Regions from separate parts of the Homo sapiens genome. Here region 1 is linked to region 2. The links are contacts of gene promoters, found by promoter capture Hi-C in human tissues and cell types (Jung and others, 2019). All regions are on one chromosome and are shown on one strand. Each heading gives the region's core, a stretch centred on a gene start or on the middle of the fragment in contact. The rest is flanking DNA. Distances are from core to core; before and after follow the strand shown. Region 1 overlaps LOC100507053 (a long non-coding RNA gene). Region 2 holds the start of ADH1A (alcohol dehydrogenase 1A (class I), alpha polypeptide).

The links. Contacts are between HindIII fragments. The study calls those that stand out against the background at their distance.
Region 1: a fragment that was not itself captured here is called in contact with the fragment with the promoter of ADH1A in region 2 in 1 of the 25 tissues and cell types used here (stomach).

Annotation. Positions count from the first base shown.
Region 1 is chr4:99,240,877-99,247,714 of GRCh38, forward strand. All of the region lies in intron 4 of LOC100507053 (a long non-coding RNA gene), which reads left to right. Among named protein-coding and RNA genes, the nearest start is that of ADH6, 25 kb to the left of the region's middle. The HindIII fragment of the contact is 5,924 bases long and covers 1-5,554 here.
Region 2 is chr4:99,287,757-99,295,026 of GRCh38, forward strand. It overlaps ADH1A (alcohol dehydrogenase 1A (class I), alpha polypeptide), which reads right to left and starts at 3,229. Exons shown (of 9, transcript NM_000667.4): 1 at 3,141-3,229. The coding sequence starts at 3,158. LOC100507053 (a long non-coding RNA gene) reads left to right here. Exons shown (of 10, transcript NR_037884.1): 6 at 910-1,029; 7 at 3,181-3,192. RefSeq lists a promoter at 3,175-4,391. The HindIII fragment of the contact is 12,505 bases long and covers 1-4,018 here.

The DNA.
Region 1 (6,838 bases), core at 1,343-3,842, 48 kb before region 2:
GACTATAGTCACCCTGTTGGGCTATCAAATACTAGGTCTTATTCTTTCTAACTACTTTTTTTGTACCGATTAACACTTGCCAGCTTCCCTCCCACCTCTGTACTCCCTTTGCCAGCCTCTGATAACCATCCTTCTATTCTCTTTCTCCATAAGTTCAATTGTTTTGATTTTCAGATTCCACAAATAAATGAGAACATGTAAAGTTTCTCTTTCTGTGCCTGGCTTATATCAGTTAGCATAAGGACCTCCAGTTCCATCCATGTTGCTGCAAATGACAGGATATCATTCCTTTTTTTATGGCTGAATAGTACTCCATTGTGTATAAGTACCATATTTTCTTTTTTCAGTCATCTGTTCATGGACACTTAGGTTGCCACCAAATTTTTGCTATTGTGAACAGTGCTGCAACAAACATGGGAGTGCAGATATTTCTTTGATTCACTCATTTCCTTTCTTTTGTGTATATACCCAGCAGTGGGATTGCTGGATTATGTGGTAGCTCTATTTTTGGTTTTTTGAGGAACCTCCAAATTGTTCTCTGTAGTGGTTGTACTAATTTACACTCCCATCAATAGTGTATGAAGTTTCCCTTTTTTCACATTCTTGCCAGCATTTGTTATTGCCTGTCTTTTGGATATAAGCCAACTTAACTGGGGTGATATAATATCTCATTGTAGCTTTGATTTGCCTTTCTTTGATGATCAATGATGTTGAGAACCTTTACATATGCCTGTTTACCATTTGTATATCTTCCTTTGAGAAATGTTTATTAAAATAGTTTGCCCATTTTTAAATTGGATAATTAGAGTTTTTTTCCTATAGGGTTGTTTGAGCTCCTTATATATTTTGGTTATTAATTCATTGTCAGATGGGTAGTTTGCAAATATTTTCTCCCATTCTGTGGGTTGTCTCTTCACTTTGTTGACTGTTTGTTTTACTATACAGAAGCTCTTGAACTTCATGTGATCTCATTTGTCCATGTTTGCTTTGGTTGTCTGTGCTTGTAGGGTATTAATAAGGAAATTTTTGCCCAGACCAATGTGCCAGAGAGTTTCCACAATGTTTTCTTTTAGTAGTTTAATAGTTTGAGGTCTTAGATTTAAGTCATTAATCCATTTTGATTTGATTTTTGTATATGATGAGAGACAGAGGTCAAGCTTCATTCTTCTGCTTATGGATATACAGTTATCCTAACACCATGTATTGAAGAGATCTTTTTTTATACTCTATTTTTTTGCTAATAACAGTCACCATTTATTGAACAGTTACCGTTTACTTGTTCATATGAATTTTCTCATGACTTTGAAATGCTTTCTAATCATAATTGTAAATGGCTACTTTTAGTACTCTATCTTTTTTTATTATACTTTAAGTTCTGGCATACATGTGCAGAACATGCAGGTTTGTTACATAGGTATACACGTTCCATGGTGGTTTGCTGCACCCATCAACCTGTCATCTACATTAAGTATTTCTCTTAATGCTATTCTTCCCCTTGCCCTTCACTCCCCAACGGGCCCTGGTGTGTGATGTTCCCCTCCCTTTGTCCATGTAGTTCTCATTCTTCAACTACCAATTATGAGTGAGAACATGTGGTGTTTGGTTTTCTGTTCCTGTGTTAGTTTGCTGAGAATGATGGTTTCCAGCTTCACACATGTCCCTGCAAAGGACGTGAACTCATTTTTTTATGGCTGCATAGTATTCCATGGTGTATATGTGCCACATTTTCTTTATCCCGTCTATCATTGATGGGCATTTGGGTTGGTTCCAAGTCTTTGCTATTGTGAATAGTACTGCAATAAACATATGTGTGAATGTGTCTTTATAGTAGAATGGTTTGTAATCCTTTGGATAGATACCCAGTAATGGGATTGCTGGCTGAAATGATATTTCTGGTCCTAGATCCTTGAGGGATTGCCACACGGTCTTCTGCAATGTTTGAACTAATTTACACTCCCACCAACAGCATAAAATCATTCCTATTTCTCCACATTCTCACCAGCATCTGTTGTTTGCTGACTTTTTAATGATTGCCATTCTAACTGGTGTGAGATGGTAATTTGCTGTGGTTTTGACTTGCATTTCTCTAATGACCAGTGATGATGAGCTTTTTTTCATGTTTTTTGGCTGCATAAATGTATTCTTTTGAGAAGTGTCTGTTCATATCCTTTGCCTACTTTTTGATGGGGTTGTTTGTTTTTTTTTCTTGTAAATTTGTTTAAGTTCCTTGTAGATTCTGAATATTAGACCTTTGTCAGATGGATAGATTGCAAAATTTTCTCCCATTCTGTAGGTTGCCTGTTCATTCTGATAATAGTTTCTTTGCTGTGAAGAAGCTCTTTAGTTTAATTAGATCCCATTAGTCAATGTTGGCTTTTGTTGCAATTGTTTTTGGTGTTTTAGTCATGAAGTCTTTGCCCATGCCTATGTCCTGAATGGTATTGCCTAGGTTTTCTTCTAAGGTTTTTATGGTTTTAGGTTTTACATTTAAGTATTAAATTCATCTCAAGTTAATTTTTGTATAAGGTGTAAGTAAGGGGTCCAGTTTCAGTTTTCTGCATATGGCTAGCCAGTTTTTTCAGCACCCTTTATTAAATAGGGAATCCTTTCCCCATTGCTTGTTTTTGTCAGGTTTGTTGATGATCAGATGGTTGTAGATGTGTGGTGTTATTTCTGAGGTCTCTTTTCTGTTCCATTGGTCTATATGTCTGTTTTGGTACCAGTACCATGCTGTTTTGGTTGCTGTAGCCTTGTAGTATAGTTCGAAGTCAGGTAGCATGATGCCTCCAGCTTTGTTCTTTGTGCTTAGGATTGTCTTGGCTATACAGACTCTTTTGTGGTTCCATATAAAATTTAAGGTAGTTTTTCTAATTCTGTGAAGAAAGTCAGTGGAGCTTGATGGGAATAGCATTGAATCTATATATTACTTTGGGCAGTATGACCATTTTCATGATATTGATTCTTCCTATCCATGAGCACAGAATGTTTTTCTATTTGTTTGTGTATTCTCCTATTTCCTTGAGCAGTGATTTGTAGTTCTCCTTGAAGAGGTTCTTCACATCCCCTTTAAGTTGTATTCATAGGTATTTTATTCTGTTTGTAGCAATTGTGAATGGGAGTTCACCCATGATTTGGCTCTTTGTTTGTCTGATATTGATGTATAGGAATGCTTGTGATTTTTGCACAATGATTTTGTATCCAGAAACTTTGCTGAAGTTGCTTATCAGCTTAAGGAGGTTTTGGGCTGAGATGATGGGGCTTTCTAAATATACAATCATGTCATCTGCAAACAGAGACAATTTGACTTCCTTTCTTCCTATTTGAATACATTTTATTTCTTTCTCTTGCCTGATTGCCCTGGCCAGAACTTCCAATACTATGTTAAATAGGAGTGGTGAGAGAGGGCATCCTTGTCCTATGCTGAATTTCAAAGGGAATGCTTCCAGCTTTTGCCCATTCAGTATGATATTGGCTGTGGGTTTGTCATAAATATCTCCTATTTTTTGAGATATATTGTGTTAATATCTAGTTTTTTGAGTGTTTTTAGCATGAAGCGGTGTTGAATTTTATCGAAAGTCTTTTCTGCATCTATTGAGATAATCATGTGGTTTTTGTCATTGGTTCTGTTTATGTGATGGATTACGTTTGTTGATTGGTGTATGTTGAACCAGACTTGCATCCCAGGGATGAAGCTGACTTGATTGTGGTAGATAAGCCTTTTGATGTGTTGCTGGATTTGGTTTGCCAGTATTTTATTGAAGATTTTCACATCGATATTCATCAGGGATATTGGCCTGATATTTTCTTTTTTTTGTTGTTGTGTTTCTGCCAGGTTTTGGTATCAGGATGATGCTGGCCTCATAAGATGAGTTATGGAGGACTCCCTCTTTTTCTATTGTTTGGAATAGTTTTAGAAGGAATGGTATAAGCTTCTCTTTGTACCTCTGGTAGAATTAGGCTGTGAATCTATCTGGACCTGGGTTTTTTTTTGGTTGGTAGAGTATTAATTCCTGCCTCAATTTCTGAAGTTGTTATTGGTCTATTCAGGGATTCAACTTCTTCCTGGTTTAGTGTTTAGGGAGTGTATGTATCCAGGAATGTATCCATTTCTTCCAGGTTTTCTAGTTTATTTGTGTGGTGGTGTTTATATATTCTCTGATGGTAGTTTCTATTTCTGTGGGATCAGTGGTGATTTTCCCTTTATCATTTTTTATCGTGTCTATTGATTCTTCTCTCTTTTCTTCTTTATTAGTCTGGCTGGTGGTCTATCTATTTTGTTGATCTTTTCAAAAAACCAACTCCTGGATTCATTGATTTTTGGAAGGGTTTTTGGTGTCTCTATCTCCTTCAATTCTGCTTTGATCTTAGTTATTTCTTGTCTTCTGCTACGTTTCGAATTTTTTTGCTCTTGCTTCTCTAGTTCTTTTAATTGTGATGATAGGGTGTCATTTTAGATCTTTCCTACTTTCTGCTGTGGGGATTTAGTGCTATAAATTTTCCTCTAAACACTGCTTTAGCTGTATCCCAGAGATTCTGGTATATTGTGTGTTTGCTCTCATTGTTTTTAAAGAACTTATTTATTTCTGCCTTAATTTCATTATTTATCCAGCAGTCATTCAGGAGCAGGTTGTTCAGTTTCCATGTAGTTGTGAGTTCTGAGTGAGTTTCTTAATCCTGAGCTCTAATTTGATTGCACTGTGATCTGAGAGACTGTTATGATTTCTGTTCATTTACATTTGCTGAGGAGTGTTTTACTTCCAATTATGTGGTCAGTTTTAGAATAAGTGCTATGAGGAGCTGAGAAAAACGTATATTTTGTTGTTTTGGGGTGGAGAGTTCTGTAGATGTCTATTAGGTTTGCTTGGTCCAGAGCTGAGTTCAAGTCTGAATATCCTTGTCAATTTTCTGTCTTGTTGATCTGTGTAATATTGATAGTGAGGTGTTAAAATCTCCCAATATTATTGTGTGGGAGTCTAAGTCTCTTTGTAGGTTTGTAAGAACTTGTTTTATGAAACTGGGTGCTCTTATATTGGGTGCATATATATTTAGGATAGTTAGCTCTTCTTGTTGCATTGATCCGTTTACCATTATGTAATGGCCTTCTTTGTCTTTTTTGATCTTTCTTGTTTTAAAGTCTGTCTTATCGGAGACTAGGATGGCAACCCATGCCTTTTTTGTTTGCTTTCCATTTGCTTGGTAAGTTGTCCTCCATCCCTTTGTTTTGAGCCTATGTCTGTGTTTGCACATGAGATAGGTCTCCTGAATACAGCACACCAATGGGTCTTCACTCTTTATCCAATTTGCCAGTCTGTGTCTTTGAACTGGGAGCATTTAACCTATTTACATTTAAGGTTAATATTATTATGTGTGAGTTTGATCCTGTCATCATGATTCTAGCTGGTTATTTTCCACATTAGTTCATGCAGTTTTGTTCATCTTTATATTTTGGTATGTTTTTACAGTGGCTGGTACCAGTTTTTCCTTTCTATATTTAGTGCTTTCTTCAGGAGTTCTCGTAAGGCAGGCCTGGTGGTGACAAAACCCCTCAGCATTTTCTTGTCTGTAAAGGATTTTATTTTCTTTTGCTTATGAAACTTATTTTGGCTGGATATGAAATTGTGGGTTGAAAATTGTTTTCTTTAAGAATGTTGAATATTGTCCCCCACTCTCTTCTGGCTTCTGCAGAGAGATCTGCTGTTAGTCTGATGGGCTTCCCTTTGTGGGTAACCTGACCTTTCTCTCTGGCTGCCCTTAACATTTTTTCCTTCATTTCAACCTTGGAGAGTCTGATGATTATGTGTCTTGGGGTTGCTCTTCTCGAGGAGTATCTTAGTGGTGTTCTCTGTGTTTCCTGAATTTGAATGTTGGCCAGTCTTGCTAGGTTGGGGAAGTTCTCCTGGATAATATCCTGAAGTGTGTTTTTCAACGTGGTTCCATGCTCCCCTTCACTTTCAGGTGTACCAATCTGTCATAGGTTTGGTCTTTTCACATAGTCCCATATTTCTTGGAGGATTTGTTATTTCCTTTTCCTTCTTTTTTTTTCTCTAATCTTGTCTTCATGCTTTATTTCATTAAGTTGATCTTCAATCTCTGATATCCTTTTTTCTGCTTGATTGATTCAGCTATTGATACTTGTGTATGCTTCACGAAGTTCTCATGCTGTGTTTTTCAGCTCTATTAGGTCATTTCTGTTCTTCTCTAAACTGGTTATTCTAGTGTGCAGTTCCCGTAACCTTTTATCCAGGTTCTTACCTTCCTTTCTTTGGGGCAGAACATGCTTATTTAGCTTGGAGGCGTTTGTTATTACCTACTTTCTGTAGTGTACTTCTGTTCAATTCATCAAACTCATTTTCCATCCAGTTTTGTTCCCTTTCTGGTGAGGAGTTGTGGTCCTTTGGAGGAGAAGAGGCATTCTGGTTTTTGAAATTTTCAGCATTTTTGTGCTTTTTTCCCCTCAGCTTTGTGGATTTATGTACCTTTGATCTTTGATGCTGAGGCACTTTGGATGGGGTTTTTCTGTGGGCATACTTTTCTTTTGATGCTGATGTTTTTGTTTTCTCTTTGTTAGTTTTCCTTCTGTCAGGCCTCTCTGGTGCAGGTCTGCTGGAGTTTGCTGGAGGTCCACTTTAGACACTGTTTGCCTGGATATCACCAGTGGAGGCTGCAGAACAGCAAAGATTGCTGCTTGCTCCTTCCTCTGGAAGATTTGTCCCAGAAGGACACCCACCAGATGCCAGCTGGAGCTCTCCTGTATGAGATGTCTGTCGGCCCCTGCTGGGAGGTGTCTCCTAGTTAGGAGGCACGGGGGTCAGGGACCCATTTAAGGAGTCAGTCTGTT
Region 2 (7,270 bases), core at 1,979-4,478:
TCCCATGTCTGGTACCTAACAAGTGCTCTATAGAAATGATCACCTCTGATTTATAAAGAGAAAAAAATATATTTTAAAAAAGCAATAACATAAGGAAAGATAAACAGTTAACTATAACAACACACTGAGATAAAATGGAATATATTCATTAAGGCCATCCTTATGTTGTTGTTGTTTTTCTCCAAAGTTGTTTAATCCTGACATTTCCTAATGCTATGCTGAAAATGTCTCTTCACCCACAATTATTGGCTGGTACATCAAATTCTAAGTCACCTTCATTTTGCTGACAGAGTCAGTGTCTGTTCACATAAAATACACTGTTTTCTTTCTCAATTTTCTGCTTAGGCCAAAAGGATCTGAGTTTATAAGGATATATTTACCTTCCTGCCTGGGATGACATCTCTTTCTCTCTCTTTTCCTATTCTCCTCTTTTAATTTTCTCTCTCCACCACTTCTGTGTGTTACTTGTTCCAACACCCATTTGCAACTTAGCTTTGAGAGGCTGTACTGTTATCTGATCTATGTGTAGAGACTCCTTCCAGCTTTGATTTGAGCCCCAAATTACAAAGGTTAGAGTTGGGTGTGTGTGTGTGTGTGTGTGTATGTGTGTGTGTGTATACACTCAGACCTACACATACATATTTCAAAATTGGAGACACTGTGTGTTTGAATTTCTAGCTAGCAGATCTTATCCATAGATGTTCTTAAAAATAAAAGATGTACACATAATTTCCAGTGCTTGGCAGTGAACTGTAATATCTGTCTTCATTGTGGTTAAGCATGTACAATTCACAAAACTCTTTCCAGAGAGAATCAACAAAATTGCAATTATGATAAAAATTCAATTGAAATTTGTTCTTCTGATAATTCGTTGTCATTATTTATTTGTCAAATTATTCAACTTTGCAGGATGTTCAACATGATCAATGCCAAATAAATATCAGAATACTTGGAAGTAAAGTACTAATAGTAGGAGTTCCTGATTATCAGGTGCCTATGATGTGACAGGCACATTGTGGCCTGTGCTCGGTGAGTTATTTGCATTATATTTATTTATAAAATTTATTTTTAATTTCAATAGTTTTTGGGGTGCAGGTGTTTTCTGGTTACCTGGGTAAGTTCTTTAGTGGTGATTTCTGAGATTTTGGTGCACCCTTCACTCAAGCAGTGTACATTGCACCCAATATGTAGTCTTTTATCCCTCACCTCCCCTTTCAACCTTCCCCCTCGAGTTCCCAAAGTTCATGATATCATTCTCATGCCTTTGCATCCTCATAGCCTAACTCTCTCTTATAAATGAGAACATATGATGTTTGGTTCTCCATTTCTGAATTACTTAGAATAATGGTCTCCAGCTCCATCCAAGTTGCTGCAAAGGCCATTATTTTATTTTATTCTGTTTAATGGCTGAGTAGTATTCCATGGTATATGCACACCATATTTTCTTTATCTACTCGTTTGTCGATGGGCATTTAGGTCAGTTCTGTATTTTGTAATTGCAAATTGTGCTGCTATAAACAACATGCATTATTTTAAAATCTCATAAGGATGCTACCAGGACAGTACTATTGAATTATTGGCTTTATTTTACAGCTGAAATAATTGAGGATCCATTGACTCAGTGATTAACTAATTTCTCTAAAGTCTCAAAGCTGGCTTTCCAGAGAATAAAGATGAATCTAGCCTTATGTTTTCACTACTCGGTGTCAGTAAAAAGTTAGCAAAAAGTTAAATAGCAACAATAATAATAGTGGCTAATAGTTATTGACTTATTTCTACATCCCAAATACAATTTTAAGTTCTTTATAGTATTCATTTATTGAATTATCACAACACAACTACTTTATGAAATAGATGTTAGTATTGTCACTATTTAGCATTTGAGGAAAATATAATGCAGGATGTATAAACATAAATGAAATGCTGACAACAAACTAAGTTATTGATGTTGTGCCCAAGAGGGGAGGCAATTGTCTATTTCATCAGTTATTATTTTCATTAATATGATTGGTTTATACTTTTGCTGTAGGAACTCATTATTTCTTTTAAGTTGAGTTTGGTAAATTTAATTTTTTTGCTAATTGTTTTCTATGTGGAATGTACATATTAATCAGTAATGAATGAAAGTAAAGTGAGGTGGAATAAGAACAGTAACAATGGGCCACCCATGTGATTTCCAACCAGTCTTATTGATATGAACCTGTTTTGTCACAGAGTGTATAGAGAAGCCTCAGAGCCTTTAAACTGAGTTATCATAGTGAGATATTTTACTGTGTAATACACTCCTAACACAAAAAAGGACTGGAAATAGTTGCACAAATTTTTGTAATTAGGCAATTAAAATATCAATTGATTATATTGTATTACCACATGTATTTTTGTGCACCTATAAACACATTGAACAATTAAGATATTTATGGAAGGCAAAACCAAATATCTGTGTTCCTAGTGCTAATAAGTGATTCAAATTGTATTATTAATTTTCTGTAAAACCATATTGACTTTTATATGGGGAAGATACTGTTCCATAGGATTACTCTGGAAATTGCCTGAATTGTGTCCTACTAGACCCTTTTAAATCAGAATTTGAATGTTGATGTTGTCTTGATTAACCTTGATGATTCTAATGCTGTGAGACCAATGAGCATTTTGTAAACTATTTTATGTTAAGGTTAAAAGGGTATTTCAAAGTCTTCTAAATCAAATCCTCTCATAAAACTTTCATCAGACTTAACTTTCTTGTATTCACAAAAAATATAAATACAAATAGTAATACATTTAAATTATGGTACCTTAATATAAAGAAAACTTCTTGATGAAAGACATTTCTAACTTTGGCTTTACAAATTAATCATGATTAGCTTGGAATAAATTATCGCTTTACCGCAAATGTCTTTAATGTGGGAAATAAACACTTCATAGATACAGATTCTATACATTCTTTTTGAAGGTATTTAGGAATAGCTTATTTCCACTGTAGTTCAGTATACATTACATATTATAGCATATATTGCATATCATATTTCAGTGTATCATTTCTAATTTAGATATGAATTTTAAATGATTCATCAAATACTGTATTACTTTCTTTGTTATATTGATGAGAATATAGTTCCAACAGTAATATATTTTTTGCTTACTTTTCCTGCTGTGCTCATGTTGATTCTGTCTTCTCTGCAGACCAGGAGACTGGTGAGTCCTTGTGGATTTCTTCCCTGCTCAAGTGCATAAAGCAGGTGTATTGCATAGGTATTTATTTATTTTTTTTGCTTGAATAACACCCGATTCCAGTTCCACACATGATCTAGGTCTTTAAGCCACACCCATTAGATTATTCACAGACTGTCAAATCATAAAGAAGAGGGCAATGAACCAGCAATCAATACATTGATTTTTCCAATTTCAAATAAGATTTTGTTTTCATTAGGTTAAATATTAAGTTAAAGTGATAAAGCTTAATCATTTTCTCTTCTCCTCACTTTATTCCTCATCTGTCAAATTTCTTGTTTCTCCTCTCTTAGTCCCACAGTGGTCATTCAAAGTTCTGTTTTCCCTTTATCTGCATTAAGCTCCAGCTTTGAATCCAAACGGTGCAGTTAGGAAGGAGGAAGAGCAAAGAAGCCGGGCAAATAAAGATGACAGCCAGGAGCCAGAGGAATGTGTTTGGCTCAGGACTCCCCTTCTCTTCATAGAGAATCAGATACTCAATCACAGCAAAGGTGCTCACCCTGCTAAGCATTTTTGCTCCACCTCAAACCAATCAGCATTGACTGAGCCCCTCTGTGTGTCAGGCACTAAGCTGGGTCCAGTGGATGGCAGTGATAAATAAGACATTACCTCTATCTGTACCAGAGGCAGTATGGGGCAAAGGTGATGGCATGCTTTTTGGGACCTGGCAGACCCTATTCCTTACTAGCTCTGTGTACTGGCACTTATTATTTCACTTTTTTTTTTGCCTTAGTTTGTTTACCTGTAAGATGAAGAAGAATAATACCATTTTAAATGACTGTTTAGTGAATATAGCACCATTTTAAAGGACTGTTTAGTGAATATAGCACCATTTTAAAGGACTGTTTAGTGAATAAATGATATAATCTATGTAAAGCACTCATCATAGAGTTTAACAGGTAGGAGCACCCTACTAAATGCTAGCTACAATTATTATTCATAAAAGGAAGCTCACAGTCTATGGGGAAAAGATACACAGGCAGCCAAGTCTACATATCAGCCTGGCTGGGAAGTGCGCTATCACAGGGATCAGTTAGTGCTTTGGGGACAGAGACAGAGGTACTATTCAGAATGAAGGCCTCAGGGGAGGCATTATAGATGAACAGGTATTTGAGGTAGATTTTAAATAATTGTGGGAAATTCAGACAAATCCTCACTGGATCATTTCTATTGCCCTTTGATCAATGTAACTAGTCTACACATGGCTGTCCAAGATTATGAGTTTAATTTTTCTTTTATCCACACTTGGAGGCATTGCACAGGCAGCTGTTTAATCAGATGCAGTCTGTCAACATGAACATGTCAACATAAAGGACATATCTCTCTAGAATTGTAAAGGGAACATTTCAGTAAGCTTTAACTACGTAGGCACTGAGACTCACACCAAGACTGAGAAACATTCACCCAATAGAGAAGCAAGGAAGGTCCTACGATTTCAGTTGCTTCTGAAATGTATCAAGGTAAGAATATAGCCCCAGATCTGATGTTCAGCATTCAAGGCTTCGTAATATGGCTTCAACCTTCTCATCTATCTACTCCTCCCCATTCTCCAATACAGGGCGTATGTGCTTTAGAAGCTTGTATCTCCCTGGTCCCCCAAAGAGGAATCTATTTAACATTCAAGCCCTTGCTCATCATGCTCTTTCTCTTCTTTTCTGTCCCTCTGGCCCATTCAAATCCTACCCAAAATTTGAGATGCAGGACAAGGTCACCCTCGTGGAGGTATATTAACTCCATCTCACTGTTGTGCTTTATGTCTCTGCATCCCTGTCATGCTAGCATCTCTCCTGTGGTTTTGGGTCTGTTCCCTTTTGTCGCCCTCTATATTTAGTGTAGAGATCAGTCTCCTAATTTCTACTGGAAATTTCTAGTCAGGGATGTTCTTAAATTTCATTTATATCATCAACTATACCTAGCTCCATGTATACTGTAGGTGTTTAATGAGTGATTGTTGAATTCTTATGCTCATTTATGTTAGGACAGGCACTGTTCTATGAGCAGTCCCATAATCCAGAAGATCCGATGTCTCCTCTTTAAGGGTTTACAGATTAGCAGTGGGATTGGCTGTGGTCAGGTAGACAAGACAGAGAACCCTCCTGTGAAGCAGGAAGTGGTCGTGCCAGGAGAAGAGTTCAACGTGGAATTCAAAGGAGGAAGATCCTACTCCATCTTTTCATTATGGATTCTCAGCTCTTAACTCAATGTCTGGCACAGAGTGAGTGCTCAGATATTTGTTGATTAAATTAAAGAAATGACTTCTACTTTTAGGGTGAGGAAACCTTGAAAGAAAGGTATTTTATTAAGATGTATCAAGAAAAGTGGGTCATCAGGAGGCAAAATGGAGGAGGATAGGAGGCAGGACTAACTTGCACCTGCTACTTGGATGAACAGAGCAGTTCATGGAGACCCACATTGTGAACTTTTGCTCCAAGAACTACTGCAGGGACATACCAGGAAAGCAGAGAGAATCCACAGACCCTTTGAAGGCGGTGGACTGCTGCTCCAGCCTCTGTGGGACAGCAGAAGAAACGTGAGCCAGCTTGCTTTCTCAGTTGCGGGGCTTATAGCCTGGGGCAATTTCTCAGCTCTGCTCACCAGCTGACTGGAAGGAAATAAACACATTTTTGTTGAGGGCTCATGGTGGGAGTGAGACCGGCCCTCAGACTCTGGGCTGCATGGGAGCTGTGTGAGGCCTGTGGCTGCCAGCTTTCCCCCACTCCCCTGATGACCTGTGTGACACGGCAGAGACAGCTGTAATCCCACTGGGAACATAACTCCATTGGCCTGGGAACTACACCCTCATCTCCCAAATCAGCCACAGCAAGCCCTGACCAAGGAGAGTCTAAGCTCAGACATGTCTAGCCCTGCCCCTAGTTGATGGTCTTTCTCTACCCAGCCTGGTAGCTGAAGAAAAGGACATAATCTATTGGGGGTGCTATGGTCCTGCCCACGACCTGATCCTCCCTAGACTACCGTAGCTGAGGTGCTCTTGAAATCGTCACCTCCTGGCTGGAGGCCAACGAACACAAAACCAGCACGCTTAACAAAAATACATCCAAGGACCCTCACAGAATCCACTCCACTCTCCTGCTACCTCCACTGGAGAAGGTGCTGGTATCCATGGCCAAGAAACCTGAAGATGGATCACATCACAGGACTCTGAATACACTCCCCAGTACCAGTCCAAAGCCAGGTAGCTCCACTGGGTTGCTAGATCTAGAAGAGAAAAAGCAATAACTACAGTTCAGCTCTCAGGAAGCTCCATCTCTTGGGAAAAGGGGAGAGCACCACATCAAGGGAGCATCCTATAGGACAAAAGAATTTGAACAGCAGCCCTTGAGTCCTAGATCTTCCCTCTGATGTAATCTACCTAAATGAGAAGAAACCAGAAAAACAATTCTGGTAATATGACAAAATAAGATTCTTCAACACCCCCAAAAGATCCCGCTAGATTACCAGCCGTGGATCCAAACCAAGATGAAATCTCTGAATTGCCATAAAAAGAAATCAGAAGGTTGATTATCAAACCAATCAAGGAGGCACCAGAGAAAGGTGAAGTCCAACTTATAGTAATCAAAAAAACAATACAGGGTGTGAATGAGAAAATATCTAGTGAAATAGATAACATAAGAGAAAAACAATCAAAACTTCTGAAAACGAAGGACAGAGAGAATTGCAAAATGCATTGGAAAGTCTCAGCAATAGAGTCAAACAAGTAGAAAAAAGAACTTCTAAAAAACAAGGCTTTTAAATTAACACAATTAAACAAATACAAAGAAAAAAGAATATTTAAAAAAGGACAAAGCCTGCATGAAATTTGTGATTATGTTAAATGACCAAACCTCAGAATAATTGGTGTTACTGGAGAAGAAGAGAAATCTAAAAGTTGCAAAACATATTTGAGGGAATAAACAAGAGAAACGTCCCTGGCCTTGCTAGAGACCTAGATATCCAAATATCAGAAGCTCAAAGAACACCTGAGAAATTCATCACAAAAAGATCACCGCCTAGGCACATAGTCATCAGGTTATCTAAAGTCAAG